Linked DNA regions of Homo sapiens: region 2 is linked to region 1. The links are contacts of gene promoters, found by promoter capture Hi-C in blood cells and fetal thymus (Javierre and others, 2016). All regions are on one chromosome and are shown on one strand. The core of a region is centred on a gene start or on the middle of the fragment in contact, and the rest is flanking DNA. Distances in the headings are between cores, read along the strand shown. Region 1 holds the start of PRKCQ (protein kinase C theta). Region 2 has its middle 7.4 kb from the start of PFKFB3-AS1.

What was found. The method cuts DNA at HindIII sites, captures the fragments that hold promoters and counts their contacts. A CHiCAGO score of 5 or more calls a contact.
Region 2: a contact is called between a fragment that was not itself captured here and the fragment with the promoter of PRKCQ in region 1, in 1 of 17 cell types (non-activated CD4 T cells). The highest score is 5.0, in non-activated CD4 T cells.

Annotation. Positions count from the first base shown.
Region 1 is chr10:6,578,336-6,582,056 of GRCh38, forward strand. It overlaps PRKCQ (protein kinase C theta), which reads right to left and starts at 1,941. Exons shown (of 18, transcript NM_006257.5): 1 at 1,876-1,941. PRKCQ-AS1 (PRKCQ antisense RNA 1) reads left to right here and starts at 2,090. Exons shown (of 2, transcript NR_036503.1): 1 at 2,090-2,592. RefSeq lists silencers at 1,943-2,192, 2,203-2,352. The HindIII fragment of the contact is 7,587 bases long and covers 1-3,696 here.
Region 2 is chr10:6,193,455-6,197,175 of GRCh38, forward strand. It overlaps a transcript of PFKFB3 not described here. Among named protein-coding and RNA genes, the nearest start is that of PFKFB3-AS1, 7.4 kb to the right of the region's middle. The HindIII fragment of the contact is 1,761 bases long and covers 782-2,542 here.

The DNA of each region.
Region 1 (3,721 bases), core at 691-3,190:
CAGCACAAGACAGTAGCGGAAATGAACATGACAACGCGGATGGTGGGTGACAAGAGTCTTGCCTGGATATTGACATTTTTAAAGTGTAGAAGAAAATCGCAGGTCACTGAAACAAAGGCTGATGGTGCCCAGCAGGTTACTCTTGAAATCAGAAACAGAAGTTCATGAGAGGCAAGAAGACAGAAACAACAACTGAAAAACTTAGAGTGGATCGCTAACTTGCAGGAGCTGTGCAGCTTTGGCTTTGCAGGTTTTAGAAGCTCTCCCTACGCCACGTCTTTAAATATATGTATGTTCAATCAGCAGGAGGAAGGGACTAACAAGAGCCTTCTGCGGTAAGCACCTGCATCAAACAATGGCACTGATCTCAGAGGGATTTTAAACAGCTGTGCATAAACTTCAAAAGTAATTTGCAACCATATTAGTAAATGTCACTCTTCTTCCCGCTAGACACAGCACTTTTAAAAGAGATTAAGCATCCGCAGTAAGCCTGCCATTTTACAAGGGTTACCAAAGATAAGTTAGGGAAAATATGAAGATGATGATTCACAAGGTCGGGGTGTGGGGTGGGGTGGGGGACCCAGGACCTTAGGAATAGGGCTTGTCTATCACACAGCCTCGGGCAAGAAGGGCCCAGTGGGGACCATGGCTTCTAGGGAGCAAACCAAGGGAAAAGAGCAACGGAGTGGACCCTCCAGGCTTCTTGCCTCTCTCACGGAGCCTCACGAATCCCAGTGGTTTAGAATTTTCTTTGGCAAAAGAAAAGGTCAAAGAGGCCGGAGTTGACAGAAAGCATGGGCGGACTTCTCAGATCTTGTAGGTGGTTCTTAAAAGAATTCAGCAGGCTTGAGGTGTGCTCTCAAAGGGCAACTGGAACGTCAAGGACTTGGACACCAGGCACAGATGGTTCATTTCCCATGGACAGGAAGAGGGCACGGAGTGCTCCCTCTTCCCTCCACCTTCTCCAGCCTAGTCCCCCTCAGCCTGTGCCACTCCTGAATCATCTTTTATAGCACCACGTCCAGCCCGCACAGGGGCAGGACAGCCCAGGGAACAAGGCAGTCCTGTGGCGCTCTCCTTGCAGAAATGACCGGAGTCTCCCAATCCAGCCAGCCCGTGGACCTCTCTTCATGCCCACGGGGGAGTGCACACGCCTGTAGCATTCAACAGTCACTCTCCCATTGATAACGGTGGCTCTCGAAAATCCAATACCACAAAGATACTTTATTGCACAAACTTTGCTTGGTTAACCTGGCCCTCAAAGCTGGGGAATAACCTCACTTGAGGCTACAGGAATGAGCACGCAGATTTTTCTTTTTTTTTTTTTTTTGGTATCTTTCAAAGACCTGCCTCCCCCTCCCCCAGGCCCTTGACCAGAAACTTGGCTTGTTTAGAAGCCTGAGCAATGGCACCCCCGTCCGTGCTCCAATACATTCCCAGAAAAGGGGTTATGCTCCCCTGTGGACAGGATACCATCTCCAGAAAACATGTTTCCTCACGCATTTTTTTTTTTTTTTTTTACCAAGAATACAAAAACTTTCCACCTTCTTCCCTCCCCGCAGGCCCCCTTTCGTTCAGGTGAGAAGGAAAAGGGAGAAGAAAGGAGGAAGCGCCCCCAGGCCGGCGGCCCCCACCCGGCTAAGGTCGCCAGCATCCCGCATCCCGTGCGACCTGCGTCCCAGAAACCCAGCGGGGAAATTCTTCCCGGTGCGCTCTTGCGCCCGCTTGGTTCCATTTCCTACTCCGCCTGCTCACCCGGCAGCCCTCACCCCTTCCCGGAGGCTCTCCGAGGGGCCCGGGTAGCCCTTCTCGCCACGGGTCTCGGCCCCTCCAGCCCGCTCCCTCCCGGCGGCGGCGCGGGGCGCGGGGCCCTACCTGGAGCGAGCACGGCGCCGCTGCTGCCCGGTGGCGCTGGGACTGCGCGGGGACTGCGCGGGGACTGCGCGGGGACTGGCGGGGCTGGCGGGGCTGGCGGGGCTGGCGGGGCTGGCGGGCCCGGCGCACTGCGGGTGCGCCTAGAAGGCGGTGCCCGCCAGGGGGCGCTCGCCAGCCTCCCCGCCAGCCCGGCCTCCCGGGACCCGGCACCTCTAGCCAGGGACGCGCGCTCGGTCCCCCGCCGTGCGCCCCCGGTCCCGCGCCCAGGCTCCCGCCCCTGGCCTCCTTACCAGCCACTTGTCGCCCAGCTGCGAACTGGAGCGGGAGGCGGCGGCCGGAGGGCCCAGGACAGCCCCGGGAGGGCGGCGAGGCGGAGCAGGAGCGCCCCGGCTCCGGCCACATTCTCAGAGTCAGGAAAAGGGGCGAGAGGCCACATGTCTCCCTCTCGCCCAACTGAAAACGAAACGGCGCTCCAGCAGATTGGGTGGAAAGAGCTGGGTCTCTTTTCTCTGTTTTTCACGCTAGAAAGGGCTTGTAAACATTGTTCCTTTTAAAATGACCTACCCCAGGCATTTGTTTGGGCACACTTCTGTCCTGGGGTCATCGTTCCTAGGTGGCTTCGGACCTGGGACTTTTCCTGTATCTGCACATTGTCGTTTTATACACAATTGCCAAGGTGGGACTGCTTTCAACTTTACTGTGCTTGAAGCTGCAAAGGTAATGTTGCCGCCGTGCGTGTCATTTTAGGACTTTTTATGCCTTGCGGGTAATACTAATGATGGTCACAGGGAGGATAAACGGGGTGGTTTCTTTTTCTATACTCCATGTAACTAATTTCTCATTCAGGTTAGAAAATTATATGTCTGGTTACTAATATTCTTACTGAATGGTTTCCTTGCAATGATGACACCAAATAATTAAAACGTACTTGATTAAGACTTTTGTTGCTGTAGTGTACTAAGATCAGATTAATCTGAGAAGTAAAATAGTAATTTTTTGTCCTTTTTTCTTTTCTTGTTTTGAGAGAGACATTAAAAACGATTAAAACAAAACAAAACAGGCCAGGTGCGGTGGCTCATGCCTGTAATGCCAGCACTTTGGGAGGCTGAGGCGGGTGGATCGCTTGAGGCTGGGAGTTTGAGACCAGCCTGGCCAACATGGCAAAATCGTGTCTCTCCTAAAAATACAAAAATTAGCTGGGTGTTGTGGCACGTGCCAGTAATCCCAGCTACTCAGAAGGCTGAGGCAGGAGAATCGTTTGAACCTGGGAGGAGGAGGTTGCAGTGAGCTGAGATCTCACCACTGCACTGCAGTCTGGGTGACAGCAAAACTCTGCCTCAAAAAAAAAAAAGGTTTAACAAAAGCCAAAAGTTGAATTAGCAGCCTTCTGATCATGGGAATGTAGGATGTCAACTAAAAAGAACCTCAGAGGTTGGGAAGGCAGATGAAAAACTGAGGCCCCGAAGTGTTTCAAGACTTGATTAAATCACTCAGGTCTGCACTAGGAAGCGAGTTATGATGATGCCCCTAATCTATATGAACCCAAATAAAGCCAAAACACACACACCTTTTAAGGATAAAACTATATTCCATTAAAATTAGCCCCGCATTTGTCAATATCTAACAGCATTGGACTGACCCTCAGGCCAGAGGCTGTAGCTCTTGGAAGATCCTAGCCAGGAGGTTTGAGAGTGGCCAGTACCTCGGAAGTGCTGGCTCACTCTGACATCATCAGAACCTGGCATACAGTAGGCGCTCATTGGGTATTTGCTATGGAAATTAGGCAGGAAAGTGCGTCTGTGTCTGGAAACAAAGAGGCAAAGCTTAAGCAGTGATCCCCATGCAG
Region 2 (3,721 bases), core at 412-2,911, 390 kb before region 1:
AACACCTTCTCCATGTCGGACACTGTGGTAGGATCTGGTGATTCAAAGATGAACAGCTGTCCCTGTTTCTAAGTTGCCTGTAGTCCAGTGATTACTCTCAGGTTTCTGTCTCAGGTGTCCGTGTGGAGAGACTGCCAAACAGGCTTTATGTGAGCAACAAGGCTGTTGATTTCACCTGGGTGCAGGCGGGCTGAGTCCAAAAAAGGAGTCAGCAAAGGGTGGTGGGATTATCATTGGTTCTTATAGGTTTTGGGATAGGCGGTGGAGTTAAGAGCAATGTTTTGGGGGCAGTGGGTGGATCTCAGAAAGTACATTCTCAAGGGTGGGGAGAATTACAAAGAAACTTCTTAAGGGTGGGGGAGATTGTAAAGAACCTTCTTAAGGGTGGGGGAGATTACAAAGTACATTGATCAGTTAGGTTGGGGCAGAAACAAATCACAATGGTGGAATATCATCAGTTAAGTCGATTTTCACTTCTGTGAATCTTCAGTTGCTTCAGGCCATCTGGATGTATATGTGCAGGTCACTGGGGATATGATGGCTTAGCTTGGGCTCAGAGGCCTGACAGTTTCTATTAATATTTGTATTTCATTGAGAACAATGGGAACCATTGGTGTCTGCCATTTGGGAAGTGGAAGAGATGCTTAGACAGATAAGGGAGCAGAGGTCTAGACGAGGTGTAGAGAGGGTCAGAAACCAGGTTGGGGTTCCTAACTCCCAAGCCACGTCCCCAGCCACCTACCGCAGTCACTGTCTTGCCCTCCCATTCCTATTGGATAAAAGCTTTGGAGATAAGACAAGCCTGGTTCATCACGGTTGAGTCTCTAAACCTAGATATGCAGAGGTTCCCTGGAATTGCTTCTTGAGTCCCTGATTAATTCAGCTCTTGACATCACAAGATGAACTCACTCTTTGGTGAATTGCACAGACTTTTGAAAACTATGTTTCCGCTGCGCTAAAGTCTAGGAGCGGGCTCCTTAGCCTGAAGGATGCCTGTTTCAATGGGACGTGACAGCTGCTTTCAAACATTTAAGGGCGAGCACCTGTTGTTGGAGGGGGATGCAGGCTTAACCCATGTGCAGCAACAGAAAGAGACAAGGGGGCATTTCCAGGAAGATCAACTCAGCTTAGTGTAAGCAATGTCTTTCTAGCCAGTAGCGCCATCTGATAATGGAGCAAACAGCTTGGAGCCAAAGAGCCAGAGGTCTAAGCTGAGGATCCCAGGACTCTTCAACAGGGGTTTGTGGATTCAGTGGGAAGCTGGCCCAAGAGCTTTCAAGGGCCTTGGAGTGACCACCTGATTTGTCCCTTTGCACAGTTTGCCTGGTGCTGCACTTAGAGCTTCACTCTGTGAAGGGCATAGAACACCAACACTCTTCTCATGGCAAGGATGGGCTTTTGCTCCTGTTTCTTTTCTTTTTTCTTTTTTTTTTTTTGAGACTGAGTCTTGCTCTATCACCCAGGCTGGAATGCAGTGGCGCAATCTCGGCTCACTGCAACCTCCGCCTCCCAGGTTCGAGCTATTCTCCTGCCTTGGCCTCCCGAGTAGCTGGGATTACAGGCACCTCTTACCATACCTGGCTAATTTTTGTATTTTTATAGAGATGGGGTTTCACCACATTGGTCAGTCTGGTCTTGAACTCCTGAGCTAAAGTGATCTGCCTGCCTCAGCCTCCCAAAGTGCTGGGATTACAGGCGTGAGCCACTGCGCTCGCCTCCTGTTCCTTTTTCATCCACGCTTTGGAAGAAGATGGTGTCAGGGTCATAGAAGACCCTTAGAGAGGAGACATGGGGTGGGGTGGTTTAGGCATTAGTAGTGGCCATGTTTCCCCTACCCTGAATGGGGCTTTGCCCAGGGCTGTTCCATCGGGTTTATCTGGGCCTCACAGACGTCTAGAGTTTTCTTCATCTTGTTGTGTCTGGGTCTGCACAATACTGAGGAATTGTCTGGCAAGAAACAAAGCTACTCATGTTCTAGGACATAGTTCCATGGCTAAGCATGAAAACAAGCAAGATCCAAGTGTTCAAGGGCCCCTGCAACCCTGACATGCCTCCTAGGTGGCTGGCCATGTCTGCATGGGGTCACTGCGGCCCAGGACTCAGACTTTCCTCTAGAAGTTGGTTTTGGCAGTGTACCCAGGGAGACTGAGTCACCAAGCAAACTGGTAAGAGAATGCAGATAAACGTGGTTCACTTCCAGGAGGATCACAACTGCCAGCAGAGAGTATTCGGGGGGCTCCCCGCAGAATTCTCTTGGGGGAGAAGGTAGGTGGGAGTTAGGGGCCATTGTGTGTGGCGAGGCAGAGAAGGGAGAATTCGGGCTACTGTCCTGGCTGCTCTGGCAGAGCCAAGGTGGTGTGATACGTGAGTTTCTCAGTCCATTTTCCATTCACTTATTCTCATGGCAGATGGTGATCTCCTTTGGGGAGGTGAGGCCCGTCACTACTTAATGTGGCAAGGTTGCGGGTTCCAACATCCTGCTCTTTTTCTACTCTACCCCTCCCCTTGTTTTCAAGACTTTGAGAGGAATTTTCCAGAATCAAGCTTTCTGGCTCTCCTTCCTCTTTTGCTTTCATAAGGACAAACACTATTCGGGGGAGAGGGCGGGAGAGATATTGAGAGCCAAGGCACATGAGACAGCACGGGCAGCAGGGTGCTGCCTCGTGAGCTTGCCTTTTTTTTTTTTTTCTTTTTTGAGATGGAGTCTCGCTCTGTCTCCTAGGCTGGAGTGCACTGGTGCAATCACAACTCACTGCAGCCTCCACCTCCCGGTTCAAGCGATTCTTCCACCTCAGCCTCCCAAGTAGCTGGGACCACAGGCGCCTGCTACCACACCCGGCTAATTTTTTGTATTATTTTTTGTAGAGATGGTGGATTAGTCAGGGTTCTGTAGAGGGACAGAACTAATAGGATAGATGTATATATAAGGGGAGTTTATTAAGGAGCATTGACTCCCACGATCACAAGGTGAGGTCCACAATAGGCCGTCTGCAAGCTGAGGAGCAAGGAAGCCAGTCCAGGTCCCAAAACCTCAAAAGTGGGAAGTTAATAGTGCAGCCTTCAGTCTGTGGTCAAAGGTCCAAGAGTCCCAAAGCTGAAGAATTTGGAGTCTGATGTTTGAGGGCAGGAAGCATTCAGCACAGGAGAAAGATGTAGGCGCAGAGACTAAGCCAGTCTAGTCTTTCCACGGTCTTCTGCCTGCTTTTGTTCGGGCCCTGCTGGCAGCTGATTAGATGGTGTCCACCCAGACGGAGGGTGGGTCTGCCTCTCCCAGTCCACTCACTCAAATGTTAATCTCCTTTGGCAACACCCTCACAGACACACCCAGGATTTTTCAATCCAATCATCTTGACACTCAGTATTCACCATCACAGATGGAGTCTTGCTATGTTGCCCAGGCTGGTCTCAAATTCCTGTCCTTAAGCAATCCTCCCCCCGTCACGCTCCCAAAGTGCTGGGATTACAGGCCTGAGCCACTGTACCTGGCTTGTTTTAATCTTTTATACTGCATTTTTACTGTACTTATTATTATTATTATTATTATTTTTGAGACAGAGTCTTGCTCTGTCCCCCAGGCTGGAGTGCAATGGCGTGATCTCGGCTCACTGCAGCCTCTGCCTCCCAGGTTCAAGCGATTGTCCTGCCTCAGCCTCCCAAGTAGCTAGGATTATAGGTCCCCGCCACCATGCCCAGCTAATTTTTGTACTTTTAGTAGTTTTAC